Linked DNA regions of Homo sapiens: region 1 is linked to region 2. The links are contacts of gene promoters, found by promoter capture Hi-C in blood cells and fetal thymus (Javierre and others, 2016). All regions are on one chromosome and are shown on one strand. Each heading gives the region's core, a stretch centred on a gene start or on the middle of the fragment in contact. The rest is flanking DNA. Distances are from core to core; before and after follow the strand shown. Region 1 has its middle 10 kb from the start of DRGX. Region 2 holds the start of ERCC6 (ERCC excision repair 6, chromatin remodeling factor).

Region 1 (6,921 bases), core at 3,659-6,158, 130 kb before region 2:
GTGGTACATGGAGAGGGGACTGGGAACAGCAGAGGCAGGGTTGGCGGCCAGTCCTCCTGATCCCCAGCCCGACACCCCCGGCTGCTGCCCCCTAAATAGGACATGGCTCCCCTCAAACAAAACGCACGTTCAATTGCCCATATTAAGTGCTCGATAAATGTGTGGAATTTAATGGAAATTACCACGGAAGGAATGAAGTAAGTTTGCTACATGAATAATTAGCAAACACAATGAATCTTTTCCATTTCTAAGACTTGGATTATGTACATAGCTGCAGCAGGAGGCGTTTGGGTTTTCAACCAGGAGAACTTGGGGTCAAGTCTGGCCTCTTAAACCTCCCTATTGACAAGGTCTGCCTGTCAGTACTTGATCCAGGCATCAGTAGGTTATTCTCGCTGCCCCCAGCACTCTCTCTTCTTTCTCTCTTTCCCTCTCCCCGTTTCTCTTTCTTCCTTTCACCACTTCATTCTTTCTCTTTCCAGCCCTCTCTCTCTTCCTCTTTTTTCTCTCCCTGTCTCTCTTGCTCTTTCTCTCCTTCTCTCCCTCTCCCTCTCTCTCCCTTCTTTCTCTCTCTCCTTCTCTCTCATTCTCTTCTTTCTCTCCTTCTTTCTGTCTCTCTTTCTCGCTCTCCCCTTTTTTCTCTCCCCTTCTGTCTCTCCTTTCTTTCCTTCTTTCTCTCTCTCTCTCTTTCTCTCTCTCCTTCTTTCTCTCTCTCCTTCTTTCCCTCCCTTTCTCTTTCTCCCCCTCCCTTCTTTCTCTCTCTCCTCTTTCTCTCTCTCCTTCTTTCCCTCCCTTTCTCTTTCTCTCCCTCCCTTCTTTCTCTCTCTCCTCTTTCTCTCTCTCCTTCTTTCCCTCCCTTTCTCTTTCTCTCCCTCCCTTCTTTCTCTCTCTCCTCTCTCTCTCCCCCTCCCACTCTCTCACACACGCAAAGACACACACAGTGAATACTTCTCAGCTGTGACTTCACTGTCATGCTCTTGCAATCCTGGATCAGCAGGGCCCTCCGTCTCCCCACCTGACCAGCCCACTCCCATCCACATCGGTCCCACCTCTCCAGGACTGCCCTCTGCCCTCCCCAACACCTCACTGCTCTGCTCTTGGTGACTCTGTTGGCCATGACCTTGCATGGCATAGCCAGGCCATAACAGGACTCCTCAGCACATTTCCCAGGGGTGGGGCACTGCCTCCCTCTCCTCCCCGTGGCCTCAGTCTCACTCAACAGCAGACTCTCAGAGCACATTTAGATCGCAATAGAAATATTTATTCCATGAAATTGTCTGCTGTCTAGGCAAGGCTGGCCCAGGCAATTCCCACTTTTCAGCCCCATCCCCAATCAGCCTGCAGCCCCCACAGGCCAGCCTGGCGAGAGGCAAGGTAACACACAGGGAGGCATGCACCTTTGCCCACCCATCCATCAGCCTCCTTATCCATTATTCAGACAGCTGTGCAGCCCCGTTTCGGTGGTCAGGTAACATTCAGCAGATGTACCTGGGGACCTGGGGAGGTTGGGGTGTTGGGAGGGCCTCGTACAGACACTGTAGCAAAGCTTGCCAAATCGAGACCTCCAGCAACAGGGAGTAGGTCCCCTGGATGCAGCCCTGGAGAGGACCTCAGCTGTCCAAGGCAGCCCCTCAGCCCCGGCAGCTTGGGCTCAGGGAGTCCCAGCCAGCCAGGCTGTCCATGGCGTCTTCACTCCCCCGCCACACCAGCCCAGCTCAGGACCAGGCCTCCCTTTTGCTGGAGGATGGAGGCCCCTCCTGTAGCCTGCACATTCTTCTTCTCCCTTATGCACTCATTTCTTCAACAGATGCTCACTGAGAACCCTGTTCATGCCAGCCTTACATGGGGGCAAAAGAAAAGAGATGTCATTTCCTTCACAGTGCTTAAACCTTTTAATATAATATTTGTGTGTGTTCGTGTATGTGTGTTTACCAATATTATTTCCCCAACTAGACTGTAAATGCTGACTGTAAACAGCAGGTCAGCATGGGCTTAGCAGTGCTGGCACCTAGTAGGCATAAAATAAAGATCTGTTCAATGCATACATTAATAAGACAAGATCTACAGCTTCAAGTCACAGAGGACATAGCCGTGAACAAAGCATTTGGAGATAAGTGCCTCAGACAGCGAACAAAGCCAGTGCCTCCCTGCAGTGCTGGGCTGGTGTCCTTCAGTGCTCTCTGGGACAAGTCAGGCCTTGAATAATCGCATGAATTAAAGAGGGACAATCAATTGTCTCTTCTTTCCTGTATCTGTTACTAAAGGTTGCTGAGGGCCTTTAGAGAGTCACCTTCTACATGGTCATGGGGATACACGGTGTGCGAGCCAGGTGAACACCCTCTCCAGTCTTACAGGAAAGGCTGCAGCAGTGGGAAGGCACTTCTCCCTAGCCTGCTTCTCTTGACTGCACCCACAAACCATCCCAATGGCTACTCTCCCACCACTCTGCAGCTGAAGTCATAGAATGGATATGGGGCTTCATGTCCCAAATCCTTATTGCTGCTTTCCAGCTCTTTGGTTGTCTTAGCTTTTTGAGCATCATTTTTCCCATCTGCAAAGCCAAAAGGATTCCCATCATGGAAGAACTACTGTGTGAAATGGTAACATTCTCCACAGCTGATGGTGGTGGTTAGCAACTGTGACAGCCTTTCAGAAAACAGAGGAGGGGGGCAGCCCTTCCACATCTGCATATCTGTCCTCACTCCTGAAATGCCCCCCGTCTTTCTCTCTCTCCCTCTCTCTCCTTCCTCCTTTTCTCTCTCCTCCTCCTCTTCCCTTTTTCCCACCCTCTCTCCCTACTCTCCCCTCCACTCCCTCCTTCCCTTCCTCTTTCCCTTCCCTCCCACTCCCTCTCCCTCTCTCCTCACCCCTTTCCCTCTCCCCTCCCTTCTGTCCCTCTTCCCCCTTTTCCTTCTCCTCCTGCCTGTCCCCACCCAGGTCCAGACTCTGTCTGGCAACATCTATGCTAAACTCTGCTGTGTCCAAGTAATGCCTACTCCCCATTCCCTGCAATGGCTCTCCCAGGAGCACCTGCCTTGGCTCTCATGTCCTCGCCCCTTTAACCAGGAAATTGTGTTTGGAGTTGGGGGGTAGGAATGCAGAAGGGGTGAAGGGAAGGGGACCCTCATTTCTTACTTTAGGCAAAGGTTACCTTCTGGCTGTCCAGCCAGTGGGAGCATTGAGTTGTTTGGCCAGTGTCAGTATTAGAGTCGTTTTGTATTTTCTAAAATGTGAAAACAATTGCACGGAATGCATCTGGCGGAGGTTCTGGTCCCTTGGAATATCTCACCCCTCACACAAGGATACTTTCTGTCTCTTGTCTGAAGGCAGCTGAACTTATAATCCCTGAATGTATTTTTTAAGTGCTTTGTTTATGGCTGACTTTCCTTTTATTATGCTCTTCAGAAAAAGTTGTCTAAAGGAAAATCAATCAATCAATGAATTAAATGTTTAAAAAAATTTTAACGAAGGACATAAGACAAAAAATTAAAACTAGCAGTGGGAGGTGGCTCATGCCTGTAGTCCCAGCACTTTGGGAGGCTGAGGCAGGCCCAGGAGTTCCAGACAAGCCTGGACAACATGGCAAAACCCCATCTGTACAAAAAATACAAAAATTTGCTGGGCTAATTTTTGTTATTTTCTTAAAATAAATTTTCAGTAGATACATGATCTGATCAAAGAATAAGCATATTGCAGATGCCTCAAATTACTCACAGTCCTTCCTATTTCTGTGAAAGCCCATCAGTGACCATTGGCATGCAAGTATTTTTCTCTTCATCTTCACTTCCACCTTGAGCAACCTTCAGCTCCCCCTCCTTAACCAAGTGGCCCATCCTCTTGGGTGGTGAGACACCCACGAGCACAGCTCCATGTGGAAAACTACATCCATCATGCAAATCCCAGAGGCCTCTGAGTCAGCCACTCTAGTCAGTGGTGGCAAAGTTAGAGCCAGGCAGGGTCTCAGGGACGGCCTGGGATGTTGGACACTTATGTGAGGACCCAGGCCAGGGACAGAGGTCTGTAGGAAAGCCCTGAGCCTCCAGATAGATGCTTCAGTAAAGAGGCTGGCTGGGGGAAGAGGTCATAAGCAGGTAGCCCAAAGCTAAAGGTCTCTGGGGTGGAGCTGGAAGCCTGTAGAGGCAGGTCCTAGGACAATCAGTCATGAGGTCAGGGGTCTGTTTTCCGTGGCCAGGAAAAAAGATACTCACAAGTTCAGATAGTAAAGGAGTCAAGGTCAAGGCTGCTGGCTGTTTCTCCCAGGCAGGGTCATCTAGCATGTGGCATATGGTGGTCCTCAGAGCCTCCCCTGAACCCGCTTGGCTCCTCCCACGGTCTCAGAGGGCTGTCAGCAGCAGATGGGGCTCTCTGCCTACAGCCCTACAGAGAGACTCCTCAGTGGCCATACTTTCTGGGTCACTGGACAGAACTATAAACTCCATAAAAATGTAAATTCAGAGTAGTAACCACTGCCTCCGAGGGAGCACAGGGGAAACAGTGGGAAGCCAGGTAGCCTGCCACCAATCGTGGGAAAAGGGAAGTGGGGGCAGGGAGGGGTCTCTGCATCCCCAACATTCTCCCAGCTCAACTTCCTCAGACTGGGCTGAGAAGAGGCATTAACCTACTTGGTACTTTCTGAAACAGCTGCTGCTGTCCTGAAGTTGCACAGAGCCACCCAGCCCAGAATCATCCTCACTGATTTCAGCCAGAGCCAACAGCTGCCACCAGGTGGCACCAAACTGCAGACGGAGTAGCTCCTTTTCCGCTGGAGAGAGCTTCATGTGGATGGCAGGAGCCAGGGCCAATCTGGGTGTTCCTGCTCCTACTAAGGCCCTGGAACAGCCTGGGGTATCAGAAATTGCAAATGCCTGCTGGGTGGAGAATGGATGGATAGGTGGGTGGATGGAAGGAGGAAGGAGGAATGAAAAAATGGATGGATGAAGGGACAGATGATGGAGTTCATTCTACCTCCCTAGCCCCACAGTAGCTGGGCACCCCTTCTCCTTTAGGTGGGCACCACAGGTGAAGCTGGAGATGTGCCCTGGACCTCACAACTCCAACTCAAGAATATGTCCTCCCAGGTGCCTCTGCCTCTAGCTCCACCTGAGGTACACAGCCTGGAGAGAGGGCCTTTATTGAATAAATTAGTGGGGACAAGGTCTGCCTTCTGTGTCAGGGGGTAGAGAGCAAGAGGTCACTGGGGTGTCCTCACACTCTGCATCACACCGGGGGCAGTCGGGGAGAAAACCCATTCCTGTACCCCGTTCCCACTCCAGCCTGGCCAGACACCATCACCCACCTTCCCACCAGTCCTTGCCCTTCCCACTGTCTGGAAAGCTGCCCCTGGGTGGCCTTCAAGACTCTGGCCCTCACTTCATCCTAATCTCGGCTTAAAGTCTTCTCTTCAAGAGAAGACTTCCGAGACGAAAGAAGCCCAATTCTCGTCCCCACTACTCTCCACCTTTATTCTTGCTTTGGTTTCCTGCTTAGCTGTTAAGTCCTTCTCAAATGCTTTATTGGCACATGCTTGGTGTCTGTCTCAGTGCTCTCATGCAAGCTCCACGGTGCACCCTGGCTTCTAGAACAGCACCTGGCATGCAGCATTTTGTTACGTAAATGAGCCCCAGCTCCCCTACTGGCTGGACCAGCAATAGGCAGCCCCTGGTCCCCATGGCTACCCCCAGCCGGACTCCCCTCCACCAGGAGAGTTCATTATCCCTGAGAAGTTCACCGTTGCAGTAAAAAGGCGACACCTCCTTAATTACCCTGCTAATTACAAGTCCTGTAGTCCTCAACTGTGCACCAACACCGTTGCAAATCTCATTTCCTTGCAAAGTCCAGGATAAACAAATCCAATATATTTTGTTTTAATTATTGCTGTTTAATGGACCATAATGAAACTATAGTGAGGGTGCACAAAAGGAGATCATTTGGAGTATCCACCTGTGCAGGTCCAGTGGTGAGTGGGAGCCTCGATGTTCAGGTTTCATTTACCGTAATCCCAGCTGCCTCTCTGTGCCCAGAAATCCCATCACTTATTTATCGGCCTTGCCTTTGGCTCTGAGCCCGCCACCAGGGCAGGATGTCTGCCCTCCTGGAGAGCAATCTAAAACCCGAGGACCTCGGGGATGGTGGAATTTCTCCACATGCCAGGTGCCTGGATTTGACAAGCCACACAAAAAGGCATTTTGTTTTATCTCAGGGTTTTTTCTTTTTTCCATTTTTACAGGCTAAAACAGTTTATCATACATATATTGACTATATTGTATTTTTTTAAGTTGTTTGTGCCGGGCCAAGGTGGGGGGACTTCCTCTTCTCCGCCTGTTTTCTTTTTGAAAGGTTCATAGCTTGTGAGAGCTTTTAATGTCATAAGGCTTTCATCTTCCATTTGTCATCTGTGACACAGATGTTTTTCCCAATTTCTTGTGTGGCAGTGGTTGTGTGTCCACTCACATGACAGTCTCAACTGCCTCGGCCCTTTTAGTCTTGGTGAGGGTGGGAGACAGCCCCCAAGGCCCCATTCCCCCAGAAAGTCCTTGCGGCAGGAACATCAGAGCTCCACCAGTTGGGTGAGGTAGCACCCGGCACTGATTCTCTGGCTACCCAAGAAGAGAGACCCTCTCCTTGCCAACCCCAGCAGGGCCTGTCTCACCCATCTTCCCCCCAAGGGCCTTCCTCCTTCCTGCCCTCCTGCATCCCTGGCTCTTCAACCTCTTTATTCCCATCTTGCATTCAGGCTCCTGGCTTTTTGAGTCTTTGTTTCTACTTAGGAAGGGATTAGGGGAGGACAAAACAACCTGGGACACCAAAGAGGGAAGAAAGGGGAAAGAAATCTGCAAGAAAGCCACACAGTCCAGGAGCGCGTCCAGCAGGACAGCTGGACTTCACCGGTGTGTTTTCTCAGAAAGTCTTCTAAACCCTGTG
Region 2 (6,808 bases), core at 523-3,022:
AAAAAAAAAAAGAAAGAAAGAAATCATACATTTAACAAATAGTTACTGAGAGTTAATTACACCAGGCAATGTACTAGGTTAACTAATTCCTGTCCCCAAAGAGCTTAGAGTCTCATGGGAAAAACAGACATTTAAAAACTATATATATATATATACACATACACACACACACACACACACACACACAAATATAATTGTGGTGACTGCTGTTAAGAGGAAAGTACAAGGCTTTCTGACAAAATGAGAGAAACCAAATTGAAATTGTGGAGGTAGATGTGGGGTCAAGGAGGCCTCTCTGATAAAGTGACATCTGATAAGTCAGTCAGGTCGAAAGTAAAGTGAACGTCTTGCAAGGAAACAACGTGTGAAATTTTTTTTTTTTTTGAGACGGAATTTCGCTCCGGTTGCCCAGGCTGGAGTGCAACCTCCGCCAGGCTCCGCCAGGCTCACTGCAACCTCCGCCTTCCGGGTTCAAGCGATTCTCCTGCCTTGGCCTCCCGATTAGCTGGGATTACAGGCATATGCCATCATGCCCGGCTAATTTTTCGTATTTAGTAAAGACAGGGTTTCACCACGTTGGTAAGGCTGGTCTCGAACTCCTGACCTCGGGTGATCCACCCACCTCGGCCTCCCAACAACGTGCGTAACTTTTAAGACTAGAAAGAGCTGATGCACTTGTGAAAATGCAAGAAGGCTGGAACACCGAATTTTTGACTTTATTTTTAACTTTGAGTTAAGAAGAGCAGAGAAGGGCTCCGTTCATGGCCTAAGTCTTGCAGAGTATCTTCTAAGGCTTAATCATCTGGGACACTAGTATCTTCACCGTCCTCCCCCATCACTGGGGCTCCCGCAGCCAGGGGCAAGCTGGGTCTCATTTGGAGGGTTGGTCGGACACAGGCACAGTTCTGAGAGGGGACAGGCAAGGGCCAAATCACACAAGGCCTGGGAAAACACGAGCATGGATTCCACTCCCAGTGCAATGGAATGACTCTGAAAACTGTTAAGTAGGCTGATGATGGCATGACCTACTTTATGCCAGAGACCACCTGGACAACTGTGCGGATAATGGATTGGAGGAGACAAAGCAACAAGAAGATGATGGGAAAAGTTGAGGAGAAAAGCGAGGGCTGCCTGTCACAGGATGACAGCAGTTAAGACGCTGCGTGGAAGTCACGTAACAGCAGCATTTACAGGCGGCCTGCCTCATCCGCCCACACTCTTATCAATTTGACTCTATCAACGCCCAAAACGTCGGACGTACATCTAGCCCGACTCTCTTTAAAATAACAGCTCCAGCATTTTAATCGAGATCAAAAAGGACCCAGCTGACCCTGCGCGCAGGGGGCCTTATACAAAGTCGGAGAAGTAGCTGGGTCGCTGGCCGGCCAGGGACTCAAGCCGCCTCAGGTGAGCGCTCCTTGGCGCTACTTCCGGTCTCAGGTGAGGCCGCCGGAAGCGGGCACTTGGCCCTAAGACCCGCTACAGTGCGTCCTCGCTGACAGGCTCAATCACCACGGCGAGGCCAAGGCGCGGGGCCGCGGCCCGCCCGAGAAGCCTGAGCTGGGCCCCGACACCCCCTGCCCGACATTCGGCCGGGACCCCCGAACACTCACCCAGGGCCGCGCGAGCGCCCACAAGGAAACAGAGACGCTACCGCCGCCAGCCGCCTTGGAACCCAGCTCGACGGGCCGTGGCGCCTGCGCCCTCAGCTCAACCATAGACACCGCCCCCAACAGCGACTCCGACTTCTGCTGGTGCGGGGAGGCCCGTGGCGCATGCGCCTGGCTCAGCGTTTGTTTTTAAGCACGGGCAAGACCACGTGGTTTGGAGGGACGGGCTCAGCAGCGCCTTTCTACTTGCGTGCGAGCAGGGCGAGAAAGCTGTCTCCGCTGCCGGTCAGCTGGGTGGCTTGCGAAGGACGCTTCGCCCCTAGCGAAAAATACCCTGCTGGCAAGGCAGTTATGAAAGTTAAGACATATTTCCACGTAGAGGGGGATGCGGGTGTGCCATGCGAATGTAAATCCTCACAATTAACCTTGAACCCTGCAGAGAAAGTCAGCTTGGGCAGGGAAGTTAGCCGCACTTTTTGGTCGCCAGGCTGTGACCTCTCTTGTTGTCTCCCACGACTGAACACGGGAAGGATGGAGAGCTGTCCTGCTTCTCTGTTCCCCCTCCGCCACGCGCGCACCTGGGCGGAGTGAGTGCCTACAGAGCCTGCTTACATGTGTACATTGCCTTAAGTCCAGCGTTTAGTATCCGTCCTCAGATCTCAGAGGTAGGCGGGGTTTCGAGGCAGGCGAGAATTTTACCGTGGTGCGTTTGAAGAAAGAAGATGTCCACACAGAGGTTCAGAACAATGGGAGGAAGTTGAGCTTCGCCTGGGGAAAGAAGCAGCCCACGATGCAGGATGGCTGTACCAGACAGAGCTTCTCAGCTCAGGATCGGTGCTAGGAGAAGGTGGACTTTCCAGGGCCGCGAGGCAGGACGTCCTCTGGGAGGGCAGTGACTGCGGGTCACTGCCTGGGAAGTGCTGTCCTCACTTGGAAGCCTGAAGTCGGACAATAGGGAAATGGGGTCGGAAAGGGGACTAGGAAATGCTCCATAACATCATCTTATTCCTCCTGTCAGCGGCCCCAACCCACAATGTAACTTGTTTTTGTTGGTGGTAGTGGGTTTTTTTGTTTGTTTTGTTTTTGTTTTTGTTTTTGAGACGGAGTTTTGCTCTTGTCGCCCAGGATGGAGTACAATGGCACGATGTGGGCTCACTGCAACCTCCTCCTCCCAGGTTCAAGCGATTCTCCTGCCTCAGCCTGCCGGGTAGCTGGGATTACAGGCGCCTGCCACCATGCCCAGCTAATTTTTGTGTTTTTAGTAGAGACGGGGTTTCGTCATGTTAGCCAAGCTGTCCGCGAACTCCTGACCTCAGGTGATCCACCCGCCTCGGCCTCCTAGAGTTCTGGGATTACAGGTGTGAGCCACCACGCCCGGCTTGTAACTTGCTTTTTTTTTTTTTTAAAGGAGAAAGAATTCTAGCGATTTCTTGGATAAAATATTAAGAATAGAAAGGCAGTTGATTGACATTAGTTTCAATGCTTGAAAGTAAAAGCAGATATATAGTGGATCCCAACTTTTGAGACTGAGGTTCCCTTTGCAGCTATTTTGGAGACCCTTCCTATATCAGAATTTGGACAGGAAAAAATGGTCCACTCAAAAGGGGAAGTTGAGAGTTATTATTTACAAAGACGTGGGCGGGGTTCAGGAAAACAACTCAGGGTGGCACAACTGGAGCTATTAAGGGCCGAATTGTGTCCCCTCCCCAAAATTCATATGCTGGAGTCCTAACCGCCACTCCCCACCCCCACCCCGGGACCTCAGAATGTGACTGTATTTGAAGATAGGGTCTTTAATGAGGGAATTTAGTTAAATGAGGTCCCAAGTTATTTAGCAAGTCGTCCAAGCCCTTTTATACTCCTGCCCCATCTAATTTTTCTGCATCACTTGTGTCCTTCACTCCCTGGATGCCTATGCTCAGGATTTAGGGAACTACTTACTCTTCTCCCAGGAAGGGTGTGCTACAATTGGCTTCTACGGCCTAGCAAGCATACTGTTCACCTCTTCCCAGCTGCCTTAGCTCAGGCTGCCATAACAAATGCCATAGACTGGGCAGCTTAAACAACAGGCATTTGTTTCTCATAGTTCTGGAGGCTGGGAAGTCCAAGATCAAATGCAGGCAGATTTAGCTCATTTAGGGGAAGCTCTCCTCATGGCTTGCAAATGGTTACCTTCTCACTGTGTCCTTACATGGGGTAGAGAGAGGGCTCTGTCTTCCCTTTCTTCTAAGGCATCAGCCGTATTGGATTAGGGACTCACCCTTATGATCTCATTTAACCAGATTTGCTGCCTAAAGACCCTGTCTCCAAATAGTCACATTGAGGGTTAGGGATTCAGCATATGAATTTGGGGGGCACCCAGTTTAGCCCATAGCACCAACTCTGCCTTTGTTGACTTCACATTAATAGCTTGAAATCAGCCATAGTAGGAGTATTTATACCACAGAAATGGACAAACTATAAACTGGAACTTTGGGGGAGAGGCAATTATTAATCTTTTCCCACATACCCCTACTTGTTATTCTGTCACTTCTGTGATCTTACAAGCAGGTCCCTCTGCTTAGAATTCTCTTACCCATTCCAAACTCAGACAAAGTTTCTCTTTTCTGAAGCTTTCCCCTACCCTCTGACAGCAATAGGCTCTTGCATCTCCTGTGTACCCCCAAACCAATATTTCTAATGTCATTATTATAGTAGTTATTGATTTGGATTTTAATCCATTTTCCCTACCATTTCCTAGCCCTTACTCTAAGCTGGGCATTATTTTAAACACCCCACCCAAGGGGTTCTTCCTGCCCACTGCATAAAGAAAGACCATAGCATTGTGGTAGAAAAAGAGCTTAATAGACACGAGGCCGACCATGCCAGGTGGGAGATGGAGTGCATGCTCAGGTCATCTGATCCAAAGTCCGAAGCTCATAGGCTGGGGGTTTTTCAAACGCAGTTTGGAGGAAGGGGTGGGAGTGGCCAGGTAACAGGTGCTTGCTGCTGATTGGTTGAGGCTGAGATGAAATCATAGGGGGAGTCAAAGCTGTCCTCCTGCAGTCTGAATCACTTCTGGGTGGGGCTGTGGGAGTGGGGTTGGCGGTCCAGGTGGAGCCATGGGTGTCAGACATGCAAAAAACCTGGAAAGATATCTCAAAAAGCTACAAATAGTGGTTGTATTAGTCTGCTCTCGTGCTGCTAATAAAGACATACCCAAGACTGGGTAATTTATAAAGGAAAGAGGTTTAATTGACTCACAGTTAAGCATGGCTGGGGAGGCCTCTGGAAACTTACAATCATGGTGACAGGGGGAGCAAACATGTCCTACTTCACATGGTGGCAGCAAGGAGAAGTGCAGAGTGAAGGAGGGGGAAAGCCCCTTATAAAACCATCAGATCTCGTGAGAACTCACTATCAGAACAGCATGGAGGTAACCACCCTCACGATTCAGTTATCTCCCACCGGCTTCCTCCCACAACATGTAGGGATTATGGAAACTACAATTCAGGATGAGATTTGGGTGGGGACACAGCCAAACCATATCAGTGGTGTTATTTGCAGGAGTAATTGGGAAAGTTGAGTATCTTATAACCTCCAGAATAATGACTGACAATCGTTCATATCTGCGCCTTAGCAGGACTCAGGCTCCTCTCCTCCCCCACAGCCTGATAGCTTCCCATTAGCTTTACAAAAACAGTTGAGTTTCAGGCAAGGTCTGTTATCATGTAAACTATAGCCTAAATGTCTCTCAAAGTTAGCTGGCCCCAGTAGCTTAGAAATAATTAAGGGAAAGGCAAGATAGGTGTTGGAATGGGGGCGTTAACTCAGACCTCTTTCACTGTCATAATTTTCTAACTGATATAATTTTTGCAAAGGTGGTTTCATTGTCTTGAGTGCTTTACTAATGTTAACTTGTTTAACTATGACGATATTCATCCTTGCGCCTTTATTTCACATTTCGTGTTCAATATAAGGAATTCTCCCAATGACCTACAGAACAGAGGTCTGAGTTGACTCTCACTTTTCAAAACTTCTGGGTAACGGCAGTGCAACAAAACCGGTTTGGTTCTCTGATCCTTATAAATGGGGAAAACTCATGAAAAATAATTAGATGTATTGGAAACACAATAAATACTTTGTAAAAATTATAAATCAAAAAAGAAGCAAAAGCATATTATTTAGAACTGTGTTGGCAACCACTAGAAAAACATGTTAAATGTATGTTGAATAAATGAATCAGCAAGCTTAAAAGCAATGAATGTATAAAACCATCCATTGTGAACTGTTACCAGGAAGGATTCCCGATCCAGATGCCGAGAGAGTTCTTAGACCTTGAGTAAGAAAGAATTCGGGGCAAGTCCATAGAGTAAAGTGAAAGCAAGTTTATTAGGAGAGTAAAGGAATAAAGAATGGCTACTCCATAGGCAGAACAGCAACTTGGGCTGCTTGATGAGAATACTTATAGTTATTTCTTGATTATATGCTAAAGAAGGGGTAGATTATTCCTGAGTTTTCTAGGAAAGGGGTGGGTAATTCCCAGAACTGAGGGTTCTTCCCATTTTTAAACCATATAGGGTAACTTTCTGATATTGCCATGGCATTTGTAAGCTGTCATGTGCTGATAGGAGTGTCTCTTAGCATGCTAATGCATTATAATTAGCATATAAGGAAGAGTGAGGATGACCAGACATCACTTTCATTGCCATCTTGGTTTTCGTGGGTTTTGGCCAGCTTCTTTACCGCAAACTGTTTAATCAGCAAGGTCTTTGTCACCTGTATCTTGTGCCAACCTCCTACCTCATCCTGTGACTTAGAATGCCTGCCCTCTTGGGAATACAGCTCAGTAGGTCTCAGCCTTATTTCACCCAGCCCCAATTCAAGATGGAATCACTCTGGTTCAAATGCCTCTGACATATTTCTCCCTTCCCTTTTACAAGGGAACGCCTAATCCAAAGGGTAGTAGAGGGACAAAGATCCATCTTCTGTAACTTCTTCAAGCTGAATAAGGGCTATGCTACTCCTACCTAACTATTATGGTCTCTTGTATTCAGGGTAGTGAGGAGCTCAGTCAGAAGGCATCACTATGGTGAGGGACATTCATAACTCTTGAGGGCAAAAGGTGATATCTGGAAGATTAAAAAGTATTCAATTTAATTAAACATTGAGTAAGCTTATCCTGCACTCCCACACGGAGTACAACAGCAATATGTTCC

The links. The method cuts DNA at HindIII sites, captures the fragments that hold promoters and counts their contacts. A CHiCAGO score of 5 or more calls a contact.
Region 1: a fragment that was not itself captured here is called in contact with the fragment with the promoter of ERCC6 in region 2 in 1 of 17 cell types (total CD8 T cells); the score reaches 5.2 in total CD8 T cells.

Annotation. Positions count from the first base shown.
Region 1 is chr10:49,403,016-49,409,936 of GRCh38, forward strand. No RefSeq gene overlaps it. Among named protein-coding and RNA genes, the nearest start is that of DRGX, 10 kb to the left of the region's middle. The HindIII fragment of the contact is 6,729 bases long and covers 1,545-6,921 here.
Region 2 is chr10:49,537,349-49,544,156 of GRCh38, forward strand. It overlaps ERCC6 (ERCC excision repair 6, chromatin remodeling factor), which reads right to left and starts at 1,773. Exons shown (of 21, transcript NM_000124.4): 1 at 1,614-1,773. RefSeq lists silencers at 282-470, 1,416-1,705 and enhancers at 2,126-2,185, 2,216-2,455. The HindIII fragment of the contact is 12,532 bases long and covers 1-4,220 here.